2 separate regions of the Homo sapiens genome follow, and region 2 is linked to region 1. The links are contacts of gene promoters, found by promoter capture Hi-C in human tissues and cell types (Jung and others, 2019). All regions are on one chromosome and are shown on one strand. Each heading gives the region's core, a stretch centred on a gene start or on the middle of the fragment in contact. The rest is flanking DNA. Distances are from core to core; before and after follow the strand shown. Region 1 holds the start of RIPK4 (receptor interacting serine/threonine kinase 4). Region 2 has its middle 8.4 kb from the start of LINC00112.

Region 1 (4,696 bases), core at 1,068-3,567:
AGGCGGGTCAACAGTCTCTCCGTGGAGCTTCGTGCCCTCGGGGCTTACCTCCTAAAAACCTTCAAGTCTGCACCCCTACTGTGCCTCCGTGGCTGCGCCCTGCTTTCCACCCAGGATCTGTGCTGATTGGTTTGTTTGTAACCACACCGGGCACGTTGTCCATGCAGGCACTTCATGAGGTTAATTAATGTTGTCCCATGAAACCTCAGGACAGCCACCTCCCAACTTGCCCTATTATTCATTTCATCTTTTTCTTTAAATCGTTCCACTTTTCTTTGGCCCTAAAATGTATTTAAAACGAAACTAAATTACTTTTATACTTGGAAATTCTAACCTCACCAGCCTGGGACCAATGACTGTTAACATAAATAGCAGCTGCGCTCCCGGAATCCCAGAGGGTCTGGAACTCGAATTCACAATTCCTGGAAAGGTGTTTGTTTTCGTTTTACCAGTTGTCATGTGAATCGGTAAAGCACTTCAAAGTCCGCAGAGGAGCCGGATACCAAACCAGGTTCCTGCCGCCGAGCCCGTGATCTTTGGACCCGATCTGCTCACAGCTGGGAGCTGGCTCTTTTGGTCTCCAGGGGGCTCTGGTCTTCAGTCCCAGGCACCAGGCACTGAGCTAGCAGCAGACACTCCATAAATATTTGTCAAATGAAGCACACAGATGATTAAATAAATGAAATTGGAGCGTTTTATTACTTGCGTGGTGTGGGCTCTTAGTCACCCCCAGCTGCGGAGCTGTGTGCCGGAGACTGTAGATGGAGAAAGGTACTTTGCTAGAGCTGAGCCCCGGGAACAGGACAGGTGACTCACTTTCAAGTCCATTCATTTTTTTCCCACCAAAATAATAACTATGTTTACTTCCAAGGTATCTTCGTAGATTCAAAACTCCAATTATTTTTTAAAACATTAGTCCAAATGTAAGTTACATTTGTGACAAGCTTAAAACAACTATTTGCCACTCCAGCCTTAAGGAGACCAACTTTAATTTCCGGAGTATGTGGGAAAGGAAGTGGCTCCCTGGTCCCCCCAGGAGGCCCCCCGAGCAAGCATCGTCATGTTGGGATGTGTGAGTTCCCTCCAAAGAGCGGCCGGATGGGAGTGGGGAGGCAGTGGGGAGACGCGGCTCCCCGCTACAGGCTATGAAAGAAGGTCCGCGCCCGTTTGGAAGGGGGAGCCTGGAGACACTAGGTCTGCGGCTTTCAATGCGCTGACTTGGGGCAGCCTCTCTCTTTCCGAGTTACTAACACAAAAACACAGTTAATGTCGTTAAAATACCCTCTCCTTTAGCTCCGCCCTCCTGTCTTCATTATTAATCTCCTGTGGCCAAAAATAAGCCTTCACTCACCGTTGCGTCTCAGGAATGAGTGAGTGTTTTCTGAGGTGTGGACGCGTGCGTGATCTGTGATGCACTTCGGCCTCTAACCCAAATATCCTTCCAAGGCTGGGAATTTTTTTTCCCCATATGTGAAAAAAAAATCTTTCCTTTTCAAACCATCTGTTCTACCTGTAAAAAGAGGCTGTTATTTAGGAAAGGATGAGGGAACTCTTGCATTTGAAATGGACTTTAGATTTGCTGTTGGGTAATTTTTTAAAAAAAGTTACTTTCTGAGAGGAAACTCGTGTAAAAAAGCAAGACGTGAACCTGCAGGGAATTAGACTAACGAGTGAAGAAAGCCAATTTCAAAAAATTAGGCGCTGTATGATTCCTGTATCTAAACATAACATTTCTGAAATAAAACAATTTTAGAAATAGAGGAAAGATTAGTGATGCCAGGGCTCCGGGGTGCGGCTGTAAAATCGCCACAGGAGTGGCCAGGTGGGGGTGGATACGGGAAGGTACACAGATGATTACATTGTGTAAAACTAATACATGCAAAGGAAGACGAGTAAAACGGCAAAACTGAATAAGATCGGTGACTGTATCAAAGTCAATATCCTGGTTGTGAGATTGGACTTTTTTTTTTGGCAAAGTTTTGCAAAGTGGTAACACTGGGGGAAACTAGGCAAAGTGAATGATTTCTTACAACTGCATGTGACTCCGCAATTAAGGAAAAAAAAAAAGCAAAGAAAAGCAGGGCAGCTGATGCGCACGTCGAGACCCGTGAGAAGCGTGAGAAGCTCTGCTCACCCAGGGGAGAGCGCAGTGACCCGCAGCGTCTATTCATCCGTCCGCAGTCACCGGGCGCTGGCAGAGAGGGCGCCCGGGGGGCGGGTAAGTGGGCGGGGCCTGGGGGCGGGACGACCTACGGAAGTGACGTAACAGGGCGGAGCGCGCACCTGGGCACCTGGGCAGCCGCCGCGGCGCTGGCTAGACGTGCGCGATGGAGGGCGACGGCGGGACCCCATGGGCCCTGGCGCTGCTGCGCACCTTCGACGCGGGCGAGTTCACGGGCTGGGAGAAGGTGGGCTCGGGCGGCTTCGGGCAGGTGTACAAGGTGCGCCATGTCCACTGGAAGACCTGGCTGGCCATCAAGTGCTCGCCCAGCCTGCACGTCGACGACAGGTGAGCGGCCCGGGCGGGGCGCTGGGGCGGCTGGGGCCCGGGCTGGGGTCGGGGTCGGGGTGCTCTGGTCCCGGGGTCCTGCCTCTCTCTCCCGAACTCACCCCCGGAGCAGCTTCGGGGGGGAAACCAATTGCCGGCGAGGCCGCGGGGCTCCGACAATGTCCACTCGGCCTGTCCGGGCCGGAGGGGCGCGGGGGCTTTGGCGAGCCCGGGCTCGATCGCGCACGTCGGGGCCGGGTCAGGCGGCTCCTCTGGGGCTCCTCTGGGGCTCCTCGGGGGCCGCGTCTGCCCGGACGTCCTAAGGCGCCCAGTCGTGCTTCCTGACACTCCCCGAGTGGCCCTGGTTTTCGGGGTCTCCAGCTCGCCTTGCGCCTCGGACCCGCGCCCTTGGGAGGCGCGTCCGGCCCGCCCGGGACCCACCGGGGCGCTGCGGTCTGCGCAGGGCTTAGAAAAATTGCCATGTGGGCCTCTGGGCTTTGTGAGTGGAGTTAGCCTCCGTTCGACTTACTTAGTAATTTACGTTGGAACACAAATTGGTGTAAGACTGTAATTATTTCGGTCGGAAGCTTCGGCTTGGCTCGGGCGAGGCTTCCCGGGCGCCCGGCGCTTGCGCGGTGGAGCTCCGGGGCTCGGGCCTGGCAGTGGGGTCCGGCACGGGGCCCGGGGTGTTGATCCGTCCGCCCAGCGCTTCCTCGCCGCACACTCTCGTTTTAGCTGACTTAATTTCGAGACCGACCCGCTAGGGAAGGGCCTTGCATTCAAGTTCTGTGGCCGTGCCATGGGGCCCTCCTGCACCCCAGTTTCCCAGTCCAAAAGTCAGAATGGAACCTGCCTGTACCTACCTAGCAGGAGTGTTCAAGGTAACAAAGACGAATGGGAAGGACGCAGAGCCGCCCGTGTTAAATTCGGTGGGTCGGTTGTCGTCTGTGCATAATTTGAGAGGTAGGGAGAATGTTCTTGAACAGTACCTCTTTGTTGTTGTAGATTTCACTGTTTACAGTTGATTTTGATGGTTCATATGTAAGGCTCAATTTAGCACGTTTTAATTATTTATCCTTTAATGAAGCTTACCTTCTACATGGAAGCTATGCTTGTATTTTACCTAGAGATTCCTTGAACACATACACTCAGAAGCGACACCTTTTTAAAATACCATTTAGCCTTTGCTGCCTGGCAGACCTGGTTTCGAATGCTCGGCTGATTGAGTGATGGGGCCGCTAAGCCCCAGCTTTTCTGCAGAATCGTTGTGATGCCTGTGTCTGGGGTGGCAGTGCGTGCTGCAGCCCCATACCGTGACTGTGACGCCTCTGTGGATGAGAGGCCTGTCCTCTCCCTTTGCATTTTCGTCCTTGGCTAGGAGACTACACAGCAGAGATAGTGGTGGCTTTTTGCCGTAACCCTCAAATCCAGTGTTTCTTGGAAACACCAGTAGAGTGGTGACGAGTGTCATCAAATCACCACTAGTTCAAAGGTGAGATGCTGGCCCAGGCTGTGCACTTTTTCTCCCCTGCCTCAGATTCTGGGAACTTCTCAGGCCAGGAGGGGTGCTGTGGTTATTTTGATGAAATCCAAACCACTTTGAATACCAGCCAGTGGTTAGGTTCTGAAAGGGAACCCTCTCCATAGGGGCATTCGTTTTATCTCTTGGGGATGTGTGTGAGCTTTAATCATCAGTGAAAATTTTCACACCACTTTCTTATATTGGAAGAGCAAAGTAAACAAGCACCTACCTGGACTGACTCACCAGCTCACATCCTTAGGATCTTCTGTTATTTCTAGCGACCAGTCCCTTATTTCTTGGGTGGCCTGGTTGGAGGGAGGCTTTCTCCACTTAAGGTGGATCACTTAGGATATTGCATAGCTTGGTTGAAAAGTGTTTTGTACTTTAACTGGAAGCCTTTCCTACCCTGCCCAAAGCAGACAGGTGGTGGCATGTCAGGTGGCTAGGTCGAGGTCAGCATCGCCTAGCAGGAAGCATTTCACCTCCTGTGCTCTGCTGGGCCTGGTAGAGTAGGTTGGGGCTTTGCCATGTGCAGCAGTGGCTGATCTTTCTGAGAAGTTGGTCAAACCCTGGCTCTTTGTGAAGCTGATTCCTTTAGGTTAATTATTGACTGTATTGAGCCTGAGGTTCTTGTTAGGAATGTACATCAGTCCCACTGTGCTCCAGGAGCTGGTTGCATTGCAGTC
Region 2 (4,696 bases), core at 763-3,262, 42 kb after region 1:
TCGGGGATCAGGGGTGAGTCATGCCTCCGCAGTGCTCAGCACACAGGACTCTCCGTCAATCCACGCCAGCGCCCATTTCCCCAGACCTGCCGGTCCTCTCCTGCCTCTCCTGGAGGTGCCAGGCCCCCGCCTGCCCTGCCCCCTTGCTGGGAACCCTGGAATCTCCCATGGCTCCTCCCCTGGCCCACTTAGCCCAGCCTCGCCACCTTCTAACCTCTTCTACTCCTGCACTTTGTCCTTGCTGCCGGCCTCATCCTGCCATCGGCCTCTGCTCCAGAGCATTTCTTGGGACCCACAACACCGTCCTGAAGTGTCACATCCTCCAGCTGACCTTCAGGTTCCACGACGCCCCGGCAGGGGAGGGTGCACCCTGGCTGCCATGGTCCACCTCTGCTCTTACAAGTCCCTCTTACCCTTCACCAGCCCTGCAGGCCACCTGCTCTCTCCTCCAATAATTGTCCCCAGCCCTGCCATCCAGGCGGAAGCAGTCCCCATTTCTTCAGGTCTGGCAGCATTTTGCCGGGACTTCTCTATGGCACGAATTTCATTCTGCTTTGTGTTGTGGTGTCGAGGAAGGAGAAAGAAGAAGAAGGGGGGGGGAGGAGGAGAGGGAGGAAGAAGAAGAAGGGGAAGAAGAAAGAGGAGGAGGAGGAGGAAGAGGAGGAGGAAGGAGGAGCAGGAAGGAGGAAGAAGAAGAACAAGAGGAGGAGGAGGAGAAAGAAGGAGAGAGGGAGGAGGAAGGAAGGGAAGGGATGAGGAAAGCCAGAGGGAGGACACGTAGAGAACCCGGACTCCCTGCGGGCCCCGCGCCCCCGCGCCGAGCATTTCACAGACCTGACTTTGTTTGGTCCCTACAGCCTCCGCAGCGGCCTGCCTGGCTCTGAGAACAGGGCTCTAAGGCACTCGCCCGTCAGCTCCTGGGAAAGGGAGTCTGTTAGGGTTGCCTCTGCTGAGGGGAGGGCCTCGACCAGGCTGGAGGCAGAGCTTTCCCTGCGGAGGCCAGGCTGGCCTTGCTGCTCCGCACCGCTTCGTGCCGGGGAGGCAGGAGAGGCCCTGGACGTGGCCAGTTTTATGTGGGTTCTTAGGGAACTGACAAAGGCAACTTTAAGCTTTGGGTCCCTTCTAAAGGACACCAGCGTGCCTCATGAGCAAGGCGCTTGGTTAGAAAACAGACCCAGACTGGCTGTGAATCAATTCCGGGGTGCTGGACGCGCGCAGAAGGGAAGTGCTCCAAAGAGACCGACCCGCTGCTCTGGGCACAGCCCCGCACGCCTCCCGACCACAGGCTCCGGCCGCCCTGAGGAGTCGGACTGGGTCAGACCAGCGCAGGCTGACCTCACCCCCCACCCCAGAGCTTGTAGCCTCTCGTCCCTCTTGGGGCTTCCACTCTGTCCCCTGCAGAGTGGGCAGTGGGCACCGTTGCCGGGAGGGACCTCAAGGAGTCGGCTGTGATTCCCCCGCTGCAGGGGTGCTGAGGCTGAGCTGAGGGGGGTGGGGCTGACGCCGGAGGCAAGATGGGGCTCCCAGCAGAGTTAGAAGGGACAGGAATAGTGCTCAGGCTTGGGGCTCTCTGGTGGGGGCACCTGCCCGCCATCACGCTCAGAGGGCGTCTGGCCGCTGCTTTGCCTCGTGCACCGTGTGTAGCTGCGAGCGGCAGGGGAAGACACGGCCAACCTTGTGGCAGAGGGCGGCAGCAACTCCCAAGTTTCATCAGGCGGGGAAAGCTGCCTGCCAGATTCACCAAATAAAAGTACAGGACGAAAATGACTCCAGGACACTCAGTTACCTGTGAATTTCACATAATCAACAAATCATTGTTAGTGTGTGTCCTACTTATGGCATGAGACGTACTTATACTAAAAAGTAGTTCATTAGATATTTAATTCAATGTTTAACTGTTCAATTTTACTAACATTTTATTTAAATTTTCACTACATATATTCATTATATTTTAGCATAGGTATATTTCAAATATTGCATGGGACATACTGATATATATATATTTTATATATATATATTTATATATATTATATATATATATATTTTTTTTTTTTTCTAGAGACAGGGTCTCACTATGTTGCCCAAGATGGTCTCAAACTCCTGGACTCAAGTGATCCTCCCACCTTGGCCTCCCAAAGTGCTGGGATTATAGACATGAGCCATCACGCTCAGCCTTTAAATTTTTTTTAAATATAATTAGCTGAAATTCACATTTAGCTGGGGGCCTTGTATTTTATCTGGCATCTCTACTTATATCGCATTTCCCTAGTAATGCTTGGTTATTAGAAAATAATAAAATTTATTTTTAAATTCTCTGGAATTTGGATTTTCCCTCAATAAGTATATTCCCCAGGTTGAACTGTACCCCACTAGCAGAGAGTTTCCTTCCCTGCCTGACAGAGACAGCGTGCTCTGTCACCTGCAAAGCTGCACACAGCGGGAGGGAACGAGGAGGGATGCTCCTCACAGTGGCAAGTCTCCTGTTGCGTGTTGGTGCACCACTGGCCAGGGACTTAGGGGAGTGCTATGAGGGTCACAGAATCCCAGGAGACCCAGACCTGCATGCAGGGGCTGCAGGCTCCACTGTGAGTGCTGGGCCAGGAGCGAGGGGCCAGGGACAAGGGCACGGAGTTGGGTCAGGGACAAGGGCACGGATTTGGACCTGGTCAAAACCACTCCACAGTGGCCAGGCTCGGGAACCTGGCAGTGCCAAGCCTCTCCCAGCCTCAGTCTTTTCCACAGGATGGAGCGAGGACAGTGCTGGCTGCAGAAGAGTGCTGGGAGGATTGGGCGAGTTTTCGGGTAGACAGTGTGGCACACATCTGGCTGGCAGGACCAGCTCAAGTCCTGTTAGCCATTGGTCAAAGATGTCTGTTTACTGCCCTGAGAGAACTCAGCATTTTCCTATTAATGTGATTAGTCAGCCAGGACTGTCCCACAAGGCAAGAGAAGGATGGGGATCCTCATGAAGGTGGAGGAAACACTGGGGGAGAAGGTACCTAACAGGGCAGGCATCAGCCGTCTCTTTCCCCTAAGGCTCCTGATAGGGTCTGGCTGTGTTCCCACCCAAATCTCATATTGAATTGTAGCTCCCATAATTCCCATGTGTTGTGGGAGGGACCTGGTGGGAGATAATTGAATCACGGGGGCGGTTTCCCCCATACTGTTCTCGTGGTAGTGAATAAGTCTCACGAGATCTGATGGTTTGATAAGGGGAAACCCCTTTCGCTTGGCTCTCATTCTCTCTCTTGCTGCCACCATGTAAGAAGTGCCTTTCGCGTTCTGCCACGATTGTGAGGCCTTCCCAGCCATGGAGAACTGTGAGTCCATTAAACTTCTTTTTCTTTTCTTTTTCTTTCTTTTTTTTTTTTTTTTTGAGATGGACTCTTGATCTGTTGCCAAGGCTAGAGTGCAGTGGCACAATCTCAACTCACTGCAACCTCCACCTCCTGGGCTCAAGCGATTTTCCTGCCTCAACCTCCAGAGTAGCTGGGATTACAGGCATCCACCACCATGCTTAGCTAATTTTTTATTATTATTATTTTTAGTAGAGACAGGGTTTCCCTATGTTGGCCAGGCTAGTCTCAAACTCCTGACCTCACACGATCTTCCCGCCTTGACCTCCGAAAGTTTTACAGGCATGAGCCGCTGCGTCCAGCCAAACCTCATTTTCTTTATAAATGACCCAGTCTTGGGTACGTCTTTATCAGCAGTGTGAAAACGGACGAATACAGACCCCAACCTGCCTGCAGCACTGAGAAGTCCACACAGGGCAGCGAGTATGCTTGGGGTGTGGAGCCGCGAGCCTTCTCACGCTCATCCTACCGAGCCTCTTGAGCAAGGCTTTCAGCTGAGCCTGGTCCTCAGACTTCGAACCTGCCTCTTCACCCTCTCCTACGAAGCAAGGCCCAGATGTGGGAATTCTCACCCCTGCACTCCGATGAGGAGGCTGAGGGTCGGGGAGGCCGCGCACCTTCCTCAGAGCAGAGGCTTCAAGGCGGAGGCCAGGTTCCTACCTGGGCGGTCAGACCCAGAGCCCAGGCTCAGAGCCTCCATGCCTGCAGTTAAGCTGAGGGCAGATCCTATCTTATGGACTTTGGGGTCTTAATGTGAATTCACCCTATTAGAGCAGCTGGGGTGGGGTGGGGTTGTTTTTCTCTTTCCTAAAATCTCAGCGAGCTGCTGATTGTGTGCCTGCTACTTCAGTGCCTCTTCTTTTCCCCCCAACTCCCCACACTGTGCCATTCCAGAGCCGCGCGTCCATCCATCCTTCCTCCAGGCCAGGCCTGCCCCTTGGATGCCGGAAGTGGGAGTGTGTGTGTGCGGGGGGAAGTGGGGGGGTGTCAAAGCAACAGGCAGCATGTGTAGGACACACCATCTGTCCTTCAACCCACGCCACGGGCTCTGCTCTCCGTGTCCCTTTGGGAGTCCCTGGTGTCCCCCTGAGTCTGGGGCAGCCTTCCTTCTCTTCACGCCCTCCCCATATCCAGCCAAGCACTGGGTTCTGCTCCAAGTCTCCCTTGAATCTGAGCCCTGACCCCTGCTTTCATTCTCCCTGGGGAGGGCTCTAAGAGGCTCGAGGTCTCCAGGCCTCCCTCCGTCCGGCCTCTCTCAGCTCCTCTACCTGCAGCAACCCTGTCTCCAGCCCTATCTCTCATCCCCCTCCTTGACCCCCATCCCAGCCCCCACGTCTTCC

Evidence for each region. The method cuts DNA at HindIII sites, captures the fragments that hold promoters and counts their contacts. A contact is called where the count stands out against the background at its distance.
Region 2: a fragment that was not itself captured here is called in contact with the fragment with the promoter of RIPK4 in region 1 in 1 of the 25 tissues and cell types used here (H1 embryonic stem cells).

The regions. Positions count from the first base shown.
Region 1 is chr21:41,764,673-41,769,368 of GRCh38, reverse strand. RIPK4 (receptor interacting serine/threonine kinase 4) reads left to right here and starts at 2,317. Exons shown (of 8, transcript NM_020639.3): 1 at 2,317-2,509. The coding sequence starts at 2,328. LOC102724800 (a long non-coding RNA gene) reads right to left here and starts at 2,202. Exons shown (of 5, transcript XR_937745.3): 1 at 2,135-2,202; 2 at 1,352-1,510; 3 at 1-755. RefSeq lists enhancers at 406-700, 4,605-4,696. The HindIII fragment of the contact is 3,569 bases long and covers 1-3,325 here.
Region 2 is chr21:41,722,487-41,727,182 of GRCh38, reverse strand. No RefSeq gene overlaps it. Among named protein-coding and RNA genes, the nearest start is that of LINC00112, 8.4 kb to the right of the region's middle. The HindIII fragment of the contact is 6,678 bases long and covers 1-4,696 here.